2 separate regions of the Homo sapiens genome follow, and region 2 is linked to region 1. The links are contacts of gene promoters, found by promoter capture Hi-C in human tissues and cell types (Jung and others, 2019). All regions are on one chromosome and are shown on one strand. Each heading gives the region's core, a stretch centred on a gene start or on the middle of the fragment in contact. The rest is flanking DNA. Distances are from core to core; before and after follow the strand shown.

Region 1 (4,413 bases), core at 1,067-3,566:
GTCTATCCATCAGCAATGAAGCCAGGGGGCTTTTGCAGAAATCACACCTAAATTGCTGAGCACAATATTGCCGCATGCTAATAAGGCCTAAGTTATACTGAGCACTGTGCCAGGCCATGGGAATTCAGAGTATTTCGATGCTAGGATGGACTGGAGTGTTTTATTTTATATTGAGCAGCCGAGGCTCGAAACAGCTGTCCCTGTCTGGATCGCTTGGTGGCCTGCAGCCTTCACTGAGCAGCTTTGAGAAAGGCCAGGCAAGGCACATCATCACAATGTCCTGTGACACCGCAACCATGGAACTACAGGCCCGCTGGGAACACTGTCTCACAAGAATGGGAAATCAGCTGCACAGTGGGCTGGAGAGAGCAGTCTTCATCTGCAGCATGTCCTCTCCTAGCCATTCAGGGGGCTGAGATAAACAGCCAAGCACTGCAATCATGAAGCTGGCAGAGCAGCGTCCCCCTGGGAATTCCCAGTTCCTCAATGTGCATTATCTCACTGCACGCTCACAGCATCTCAGAGCGAGGCTCAGACACTTATGTGCTTGCTCTGAGCATGGCAATCTTCTAAGTGCTTTACAAGTATTCAGTTGCCAATCTCTGTGAACTGGGGTGGGGGGGTGCTATTATTATTCCCACCATATGAATTAAGGAAACTGAGGCAGAGAGTTGAAGAAACTTGCTCAAAGTGACACAGCTAATAAATGCCAGAGTTTAAATTTAAATACACGTGGTTGACCTTGCGCTCTTAACTGCTCCACAACGCTGTCCCGTAAGCTTGGAAAATATTCCCAAGATCCATGGGGGCATCCTCAGGGCTCATCTGTGTCACAGGAGGACATCTGCCTAGCCTGCGATCAGAAAGAATTTTCAGTCTCTTTCTGTGGGTACCTGCTGTGAGTCAGATGTTTCCTTAATCAGGACAACATCGCAAGATGGGAATTGTACATGTCAAAGGGCAAAACTTAGAGTAGTTGAGTAACCTGCACAAGGTTCATGGCCAGTCGGTAGGTAAACACTATTTAAGTCTAAATTTCTTAAACCCCCTAAACTCATGCATTTTCTTTTTCACCCCAAGATCCTTGAATGGTGATCATCAGCAAATAAAATTACTTCCCAGCTGACATTATTTTCCCTCACTCCCGGCAGCCCCTTTACTCCCTCTGTACTGCTGTTGGGATGCTTTTACAGCAAGCATCGCGTGGCTTGGTGTAGGTCTATGTTCCACGTCAGGTTGGAAGATCCTTGCAAACAAGAATCTTAAAAGAGTTGCCTGGCATACAGGACACCTTCCCTACCTGATTTGTGAACGGAAATAAACAAACCACCCAGGCAAGAACCGGCTCTACAGACCAGCCTCTTGGTCCAGTTCTCTGGTCTGAAGGGTTCAGATGCCACGCTGGGAGCTGGAAGCGGACAGAACTCTTACCTCCTCCAAAACGGCCCGGGCGGCTTCCCGGTCCGGGAAGACCACGGAACTGGGCAAGTCTGGCACCACCGGGTGCAGCGGGGGCTCCGGGACGGGCACGACCTGTGCGCAGCCCACCTGCAGCCGCCTGCCGTCTTGCACCTCCCAGAGGCGCTGCCACAGCTGGCCGCGCGGGTCGGCCTCGAACTCGCCCAAGTGCGGGCGTGGTGCCTCCTGACAGGCGCCCAGCAGCTCGAGCAGCGCTTGCCGGGTGTCAGGGTCATCCAGGGGGTCGCGCAGCAGGAAGCCTTGCTGTGCGCCGCCGGCCTGGCCGCCCGGGCAGTAGCAGAGCAGCCTGAGCAGCTGGCACCGCTGGAAGGGGCCGCGGCGCAGCTGGTGCAGCAGGCGCTGGTGCAGCCGCGCCGCCCGGACCCGGGCCCCGCAGCCGGCGTCCGGGGTCACGGGCACGCACAGCGAGTAGCTGCGCTCCGGGGGCCCCAGCAGCGCCGCCAGGCGGGGGTCGGGGGCGTCTGCGTCGCCGGGGGCGTCGGCGCCTAGGGCGAAGTGAGCCAGGGTGCAGTCGGGAAGCTCCAGGACGAAGCGGCGCGGCGGAGCCATGGCCCCAGCGCAGACCCCGCGCCGCCCGAGCAGCGGCCCCGACAGTGGCCCGCGCAGGAGCCGGCGGGCGAAGGCCATGGGCGCCTCAGCGACGCCGCCCTCGGCCCCGCCTCGGAAACGAAACCTGGCGGGAGCCAGGCGCCGGCGGGAAACGAAACCCGGAGGGAGCCAGGCGCCAGCGGGAAACGAAAGCGAAGCGTTGCGGGGAAACGAAAGCCGGAGGCCCAGGCGGGGCAGGAGCCCTGGGGCTGGGGCGCCCTTCCGGCCTCTCCTCCTCGCCGCGAGATGTGCGCGATAAACGGCCGGCGCTCGGGAGCAGACGCTTGGCCCCGGGGCCCCAGGTGCGCGGCTCCGCGGGCCTGCGCGGTCCCCAGGCGCCGGCTCCCGGGGCTGACACCGAATGAGGCCCCGCGCCGTCGGCCCCAAGGTAGCTCCGTGTGCGTTCTGCGGGTGGCTGGCGGCCCCGACCCTGGTTTGAGTTCCTCCTCTGCGGCTTATGCCGGGTGCATGGAGGGGGGCGGGGGTGCACGCGCGAGGGACAGAGAAGTCCCTTCCCGGTGTAACGGGCTCTTCAACGCCCACTTGCAGGCGCACTACTGCCCTTGGATGACTGACCAGGCCCTGCAGACCATGGGCTCCCTCCCCGACCTCAACTCCTAGCTCTGACCACGCGTCCCCGCCCCTCTAATCCTGCAGAGCTGCTTTCCTGCGGGAACAGGGCGCAGTTCTGGCTCTTCCCTCTCCTGTATCTTATCTCACCTGTGCACTCACTCACCTGTGCACACACTCACCTTTGCACACACTCACCTGTGCACAAGCTTTTCCCTCTTCTTGGAATTGCCCTCTCCCTTTTGCTGACTCTCCAACTGGGAAGTGTCGCCCAGATTGGCACCTCGAAATCGCCTTTCTTCCACCAAATTGAAGTTTCCTGCACTAAGGTGAAGTGTGTCAGGATAGCACCCTCTGCCTGCCACAGTCCAGCATCAGCACTGTTGCTGCCTAACAGTGTAACTGCCTAACAGTGTAACAGTGTTTGCGCAGTTATTTGGATATTTTATTCTGTGTTTACTCATTAACTGATGCCTTTTAAAAATGATGTCAAGCAAACCAAAAACAAACAAAAAGATAATATTCTCCAGGGAAACTCTCTCAAAAAAATAGAATTGAGACGAAGATTGAAAACATTAGATGAGCTGAAAGCAGTTTTTTTTTTATGTCTTAATAGTATTGGACTTAAACTTGGGATTATATTTAATTCTGAAAAAAAAAGTCTTAACAAACGTGAAATATAGATAGGTGGTTGGAGTGTGGGTTAATAGGCTAAGAAGAAAGAAGAATTAGGAGTTTAAAATTTTTTAGCTCTTTGAGAATAGAATAGTTTTTATTCTTTCTCAGGAATTTCACTTTTGGACATTTAGCATGTACCGGTGGTTTCACGTGTATGTAGTATATGGAAGTAAGAGTCTTCTAGTTACTCCCTTTTCTTCTCTAAGACAGTACTGCATCCTCAAGCCTGCTTGACCTTTTCCCTATGCCATCCACCTCTCTGGATGTATTAGTCTATCCTGGCTGCCATAACAAAATACCACGGACTGGGCCGCCTAAACAATAGAAAATTTGTTTTCTCAAAGTTCAGGTGGCCAGAGAAGCTGGAGATCAAGTTGCCAGCAGGGTTTGCTTTTTCTGAGGCCTCTCTTTCTAGCGTGCAGACCGCCTCCTTCTCTCTGTGTTCTCACGGGACCTTTCCTTTGTGCTTGCATCCTTGGCGTCTCCTTGAAGTTCCAAATTTCCTCTTCTGGGAAGGACACCAGTCAGATTGGGTTAGGGCCCATCATAATGTTCTCATTTTAATGTAATCACCTATTGAAAGCCTTATTTTGAAATACAGTCATACTGTGAGGCACTGGGGGCTAGGCCTGAGCATGAATTTTGGGGGACATGATATAGCCTATAACCCCCCACATATCTGGGTTAGTAGCCTCTCCTGTGTCCCCCACCAAGGCTATTTGTATCCTCGGACCTTGACACTCCACAGTCACGTGCCAGTCTATTTCCCACCACTGAGCACCTTGAGGGTAAGTAGGAAGACCAGCTTCTTCCTAACTTTTCTCTGAGCCTCCAACTGAAAGAAAACCTGACACACAGTTTGCTAAATGAAGCATCTTACCTTTTTTAATTTAAGTTTTCCTCTCTATTTTTCACCTACCTTCGCCCTACGAAGAGATGTAAAGTTAATAACACTGCAGTATTTGGGCTTAGTCAATATTATATAAGTGTTGAAGATGTTGAAGATATATCTTCATTCATAAATAAAAATTTCTGTTAGATTTTCAAGCCCCTTCAAATTTGTAGGACAGAGACTCTGAGAGCCACAGCTGGATGTTT
Region 2 (4,413 bases), core at 1,084-3,583, 520 kb before region 1:
TGCTGCGTCTAAAGCCTCCTGACTTCACCATACACATTCATGGTATGTTCTATCTTTCAATGAAATAACAAATTATGTTTTTCCTACTGTACAAAAGAGAATCACATCAGGTTCTAGATGTGTATTTATTACAAGGTTTTTTTCACAGATTGCAACAAGTAGAATGTGCAATGCTTGGTAAGTTTCTGTGAGAGACCTCTGCCCATTGTGACATCAGCTTGCTATTTAATGACATTTATAAAGAAAAAGTAGAATCCACCCACTGAACACACACAAAATAAGGTCACCATATTGAGCTTCACTACAGTCTAATTTGTCCTTATTATGGTCTCTATCATTTCTGTCCTCAGAGAAATTGCAAATGAGTTCAAAATTTCCTCCATCCCCTTCACGAAAACCACGCCATGCTGGGGAAAATCCCAGGCCCACTATTCTACCCACTGATTAAGGAAGCAGAGAATCTAGAATATTTAGGTTTTGTGAGAATTCACTTCACTAGCTCAAAGAAGACTGGAAACACACAAATGTGAAAGCTGACATGGAGGTGAGAAAAGGTCAATGCACCTCTACATTGTTTCAAGCAAAAGATAAACGGTCAAAGAAATAACCCCTTTAACAGGTCTCTTGGTTTCTTTGGATCCTGAAATTTCAACACTTCGCTAATTTGAAAAAATAAATACATAAATTTATGCCTACTTTGTACTAATGGGTCACTCTGGGTTTTGTAATCATATATGAATCCATACAGCACAGGCAAACAGAAAATGTGCTGCCATGGCATGGCCACTCATCAGATGCCCTTCAAAATGCATCAGTTCACTTGGTAGGTGTCCTTGAAAAAGGGTTTCATTTTAGTTGTTCCAATTGTCTATTAATCAAACTTTCGATTCTTGCTTACTTTTTAAGTAAAATTTTTCTACAGAAAATCCATATGCCAACAGCCTTATACACACATACTGTTCATCCAGGTTATTTATATTCAGCTAACAGATAGAGAGTACCTTCTATGAACTAAGTACCGTGACAAGTGCTTTATAGGCATCAGTATGAGGACTCACCAATGAGACCTCATTTTGCAACAAATAAAAAAAAATGAAGATGAACGTGCCTCACGAAATCTTAGTTCATTGTGATACCCCCTTATTCATACACATGAGGCTTAGATCATAACAATACATGTTGGTCTGTGTTTTTACTAGTCTCAGAAATACCTTCTTCCATTGCAGAATCCTACAGTTCTCTTCTATTTGCAGTCCTCTCCCTTTGCCATAACAACTGCCAGCACATGTGGTTGCCATGGCAAGCAGAGGAGGCATTATTAAGAAAGATAAGAGCTAAGACCTTACCTTATAATTCAACCTTGGTAGTTTATTTTTTCTCTTGAGTTCTTCATATTTTATGACCTACTTCATTTGCCCGTGAATTCCAAATGGTTTCCAGATGCATCTGGACTTTATCAGATATCTGGGCAACAAAGGTACTCTTTGGCTCTTTCCTGGTATTCAGCAGCAATAGAGAAAACAAGCACCAATACTACAGAATCTCTAGGCCAATTAAGAAAATGGGATGTAAAATTATTCTAAGACAAAAGAGCTAGACTGGCTCTCTAAAAGGTTAGAAAAGAGTTTAATAATATAAAAACAAATAAGAAAACTACATGTATTAATAAAGATTTAACTCCAGATTCAAATAAGGAATTCCAAATTGCTCCCCAAATTCCAATGAAAAGCACTCTGACCATTTGAATATGTCAGTTGTCAGCTCTCTTAATGAAATAAAATAGCAACCATACAACAAGGCTGGTACTGTAGCATCCGCCTTACTGGTAAGAAAACTCCAGTTCAGAATAATCAAATTCCTTGCCCAAGATTGTCCCAGGTAACAAACAACAGACACAGCTCTTTTGACCTTGAGTCTGGCACACTTTACAGCATTTTATGCTGCCTCAGCAGTATTTTTCTTCATAGATTAATTATTTCCATTTGGTACAAGGTGGTCTTTTCCCAGTTTGAGTGGCATGAACAATATTTTCTGTTGCAAAACCATCCCTGGGGATGCTTCCTCAATGTGGAGCTGTGATATTGCACTCCCCATCCAAGCCCCTCTGAGTGCAGCCAGAAGGCACCCTTAGCCTTGCACACTTCGCTGAAAGTGAGAAGTTGTTCTTAGGCTTGCTGCACATCATAAACACCTGTGAAGGTCTAAAAATGGCAACTTCTTAGCCCTAACCGCTGAGATTAAAATTTAATTGGTCCAGAGTGTAACTTGGGCCTCAGGCGCCCTAAAAGCTCCCCAGGTAATTTTATTATGAGGCAAAGTTATAGAACCACAGATCTAAAACTTTAAAGGCACCTTAGGTTCTGTAATAGGTACCTTTATACTGAGCAATGCATTAGAATCACTTGGACAGACAGTAAAATACGTATTTCCAGGTCCCATCCTGGAAATACAGGGGTAGGAATCATGGGTAGAAATCCCATGATTCTGACGTAGTCAACAGTTGGCATTTTGCAAACTGCTGATTTTGGACGCCTAAAACATGGACAGATTAGAGAAATGGACTATTGCAAACTTTGGGAATCACCGGAATCCTCTTTTAACTACCAGAGCCTCTAAGGAGGCTTATTTCTGAAACTTAGTACCAATTATACATCCTTCAGTCATCACGATTTAGCAACTCTTACAGAAAGAGAACAGAAAAGAAGAAGATGAGTCCAGGCTCAGACAGGTGCACAGAGTCGGTGCTGGGGAGGTGAGGGGGCACCTGATGGCTTTTGTTTTTCTAACGAAATGAGAGGCAATGCCATCTGTGGGCAGCATGTGAGGGGAGTGGTGCAGAGGGGAATTATGGGTGATGAGCTTGAATAGAAAAACAAAGGTCTAAAATAGTTAGTGCAGAGAGTGGGATAATGAGCTTAGTAGAGGAAAACCGGTAGGATTTCTTAGAATTTTTGAGTGAGAATTGAAATTCTTAATTATGAATGTATGAAGATGATATTATACTCTTTTGTCTTTTTCTAAACATTCTATACTGGTGTTCACCTTCACAGATAAAGGCATGAAGACTATATGTGAATCTAACCAAGATTAGTGTTTTGAAAAACAAATGGAAGGAAACAGCAAGCATGCAAGAGAAATGACGGTCTTTCTAAAGGGAAAGTTATTTTCAAAAGATGTAGTAGATTGAACTATTGCTTCTTCATATTCACTCTGCTTTCTTGTAAAAGAATTATATACAGTTGCACCATGCACGGGATTTGTAGTGTCTCCCATTGGAGAAGTATGTATCCTCACCCAGATGACATCAAGCTTGTTTGTGTGACTTGCTTTGGCCAATGGCATGTAAATGAATGTGGCATGTATCACATCTAAGCCAAAGCATTGAGAGTCGTGTTTTGCCAGCCATATCATTTGCTTTTCCACCCTTTGGGAAACGGTTGAGTTTCTACTCACACTGCCTCTGATCCTTTAAGCCAGAAGATCAAAGCTATCTTCATCCAACGTGGAGTAGCTGATAAGGCAAGCTACAGTTGGCCCAGCACTGTTTGGGGTAATAAACGTGAACCTTCTGATTTGCTTTGGGGCTATTGTTATTTCAACTTTGTTTCCACTTACCCAAAACTTCTTATTCCATTAGCCCATCCTAACTCAGTCTTTTACCCTTTGGACTTGATGTTAGTATTTTGTACCTTGCTGCTTGAGCTTGACTCTCGGCTCCAATGAATGCCTCAGGGACTTTTCTGGAAATTTTCCTGGCCTTCTCTTCTTCCAACCTGTCCAGCTATTCCTGCACTGTCTGGACCCACAAGCTCAGAGAAAGGGCAGATTTGAACAGTTCCTGTTCTGAGGAATGCTCAAGGGGGACTGATTGTTCCTGATTGCAAAGGCTACGTAGTAGGTTGTGCCTCCTCCTCAATTTAACTAGACACAGAAGATGATACTCAGGGCCCTTAAGGAGGTCATTCCAATCTGGAGAAGCTGGTTCTAATGAGATCCAGTAGCCAAGAAAGAAACTTGTATCAGCCAATTCAAGTGGCTTCTGCCACAAACGTAGCATAGATTTTCCTTGAAAATCTAGGTGCATTGTTTTCTAAAGGTCTTCTTTTGAGCTCAAGACATTCAGGCTGTACTATTATGCATATAGCTTAGAAATATGATTTTAAAATAAATTAAAGCCTAAATATTGTTGGAGATATGAGAAGTGTTGCAGACTGAGTTGTTATAAAAGATGTTGCAAACAAATTGTATCCTTTGAAGTCCTAACCCCTGATGCGACAGTGTTTGCAGATGGGACCTTGGGGAAATAAGTAGGTTTAGATGAGGTCCTGGGCTCTGGTCCAATGGAAGAAACACCTGAACATTTTCTCTGTGTGTGTGTGTGTGTGTGTGTGTGTGCCTGCATGCACCAAGGAT

Evidence for each region. Contacts are between HindIII fragments. The study calls those that stand out against the background at their distance.
Region 2: a fragment that was not itself captured here is called in contact with the fragment with the promoter of CMPK2 in region 1 in 1 of the 25 tissues and cell types used here (lymphoblastoid cells).

Annotation. Positions count from the first base shown.
Region 1 is chr2:6,863,591-6,868,003 of GRCh38, forward strand. CMPK2 (cytidine/uridine monophosphate kinase 2) reads right to left here and starts at 2,317. Exons shown (of 5, transcript NM_207315.4): 1 at 1,432-2,317. The coding sequence starts at 2,106. It also overlaps a transcript of RSAD2 not described here. RefSeq lists silencers at 1,628-2,067, 2,308-2,577 and an enhancer at 2,088-2,307. The HindIII fragment of the contact is 2,409 bases long and covers 1,813-4,221 here.
Region 2 is chr2:6,340,521-6,344,933 of GRCh38, forward strand. No RefSeq gene overlaps it. Among named protein-coding and RNA genes, the nearest start is that of LINC01247, 33 kb to the right of the region's middle. The HindIII fragment of the contact is 7,670 bases long and covers 1-4,413 here.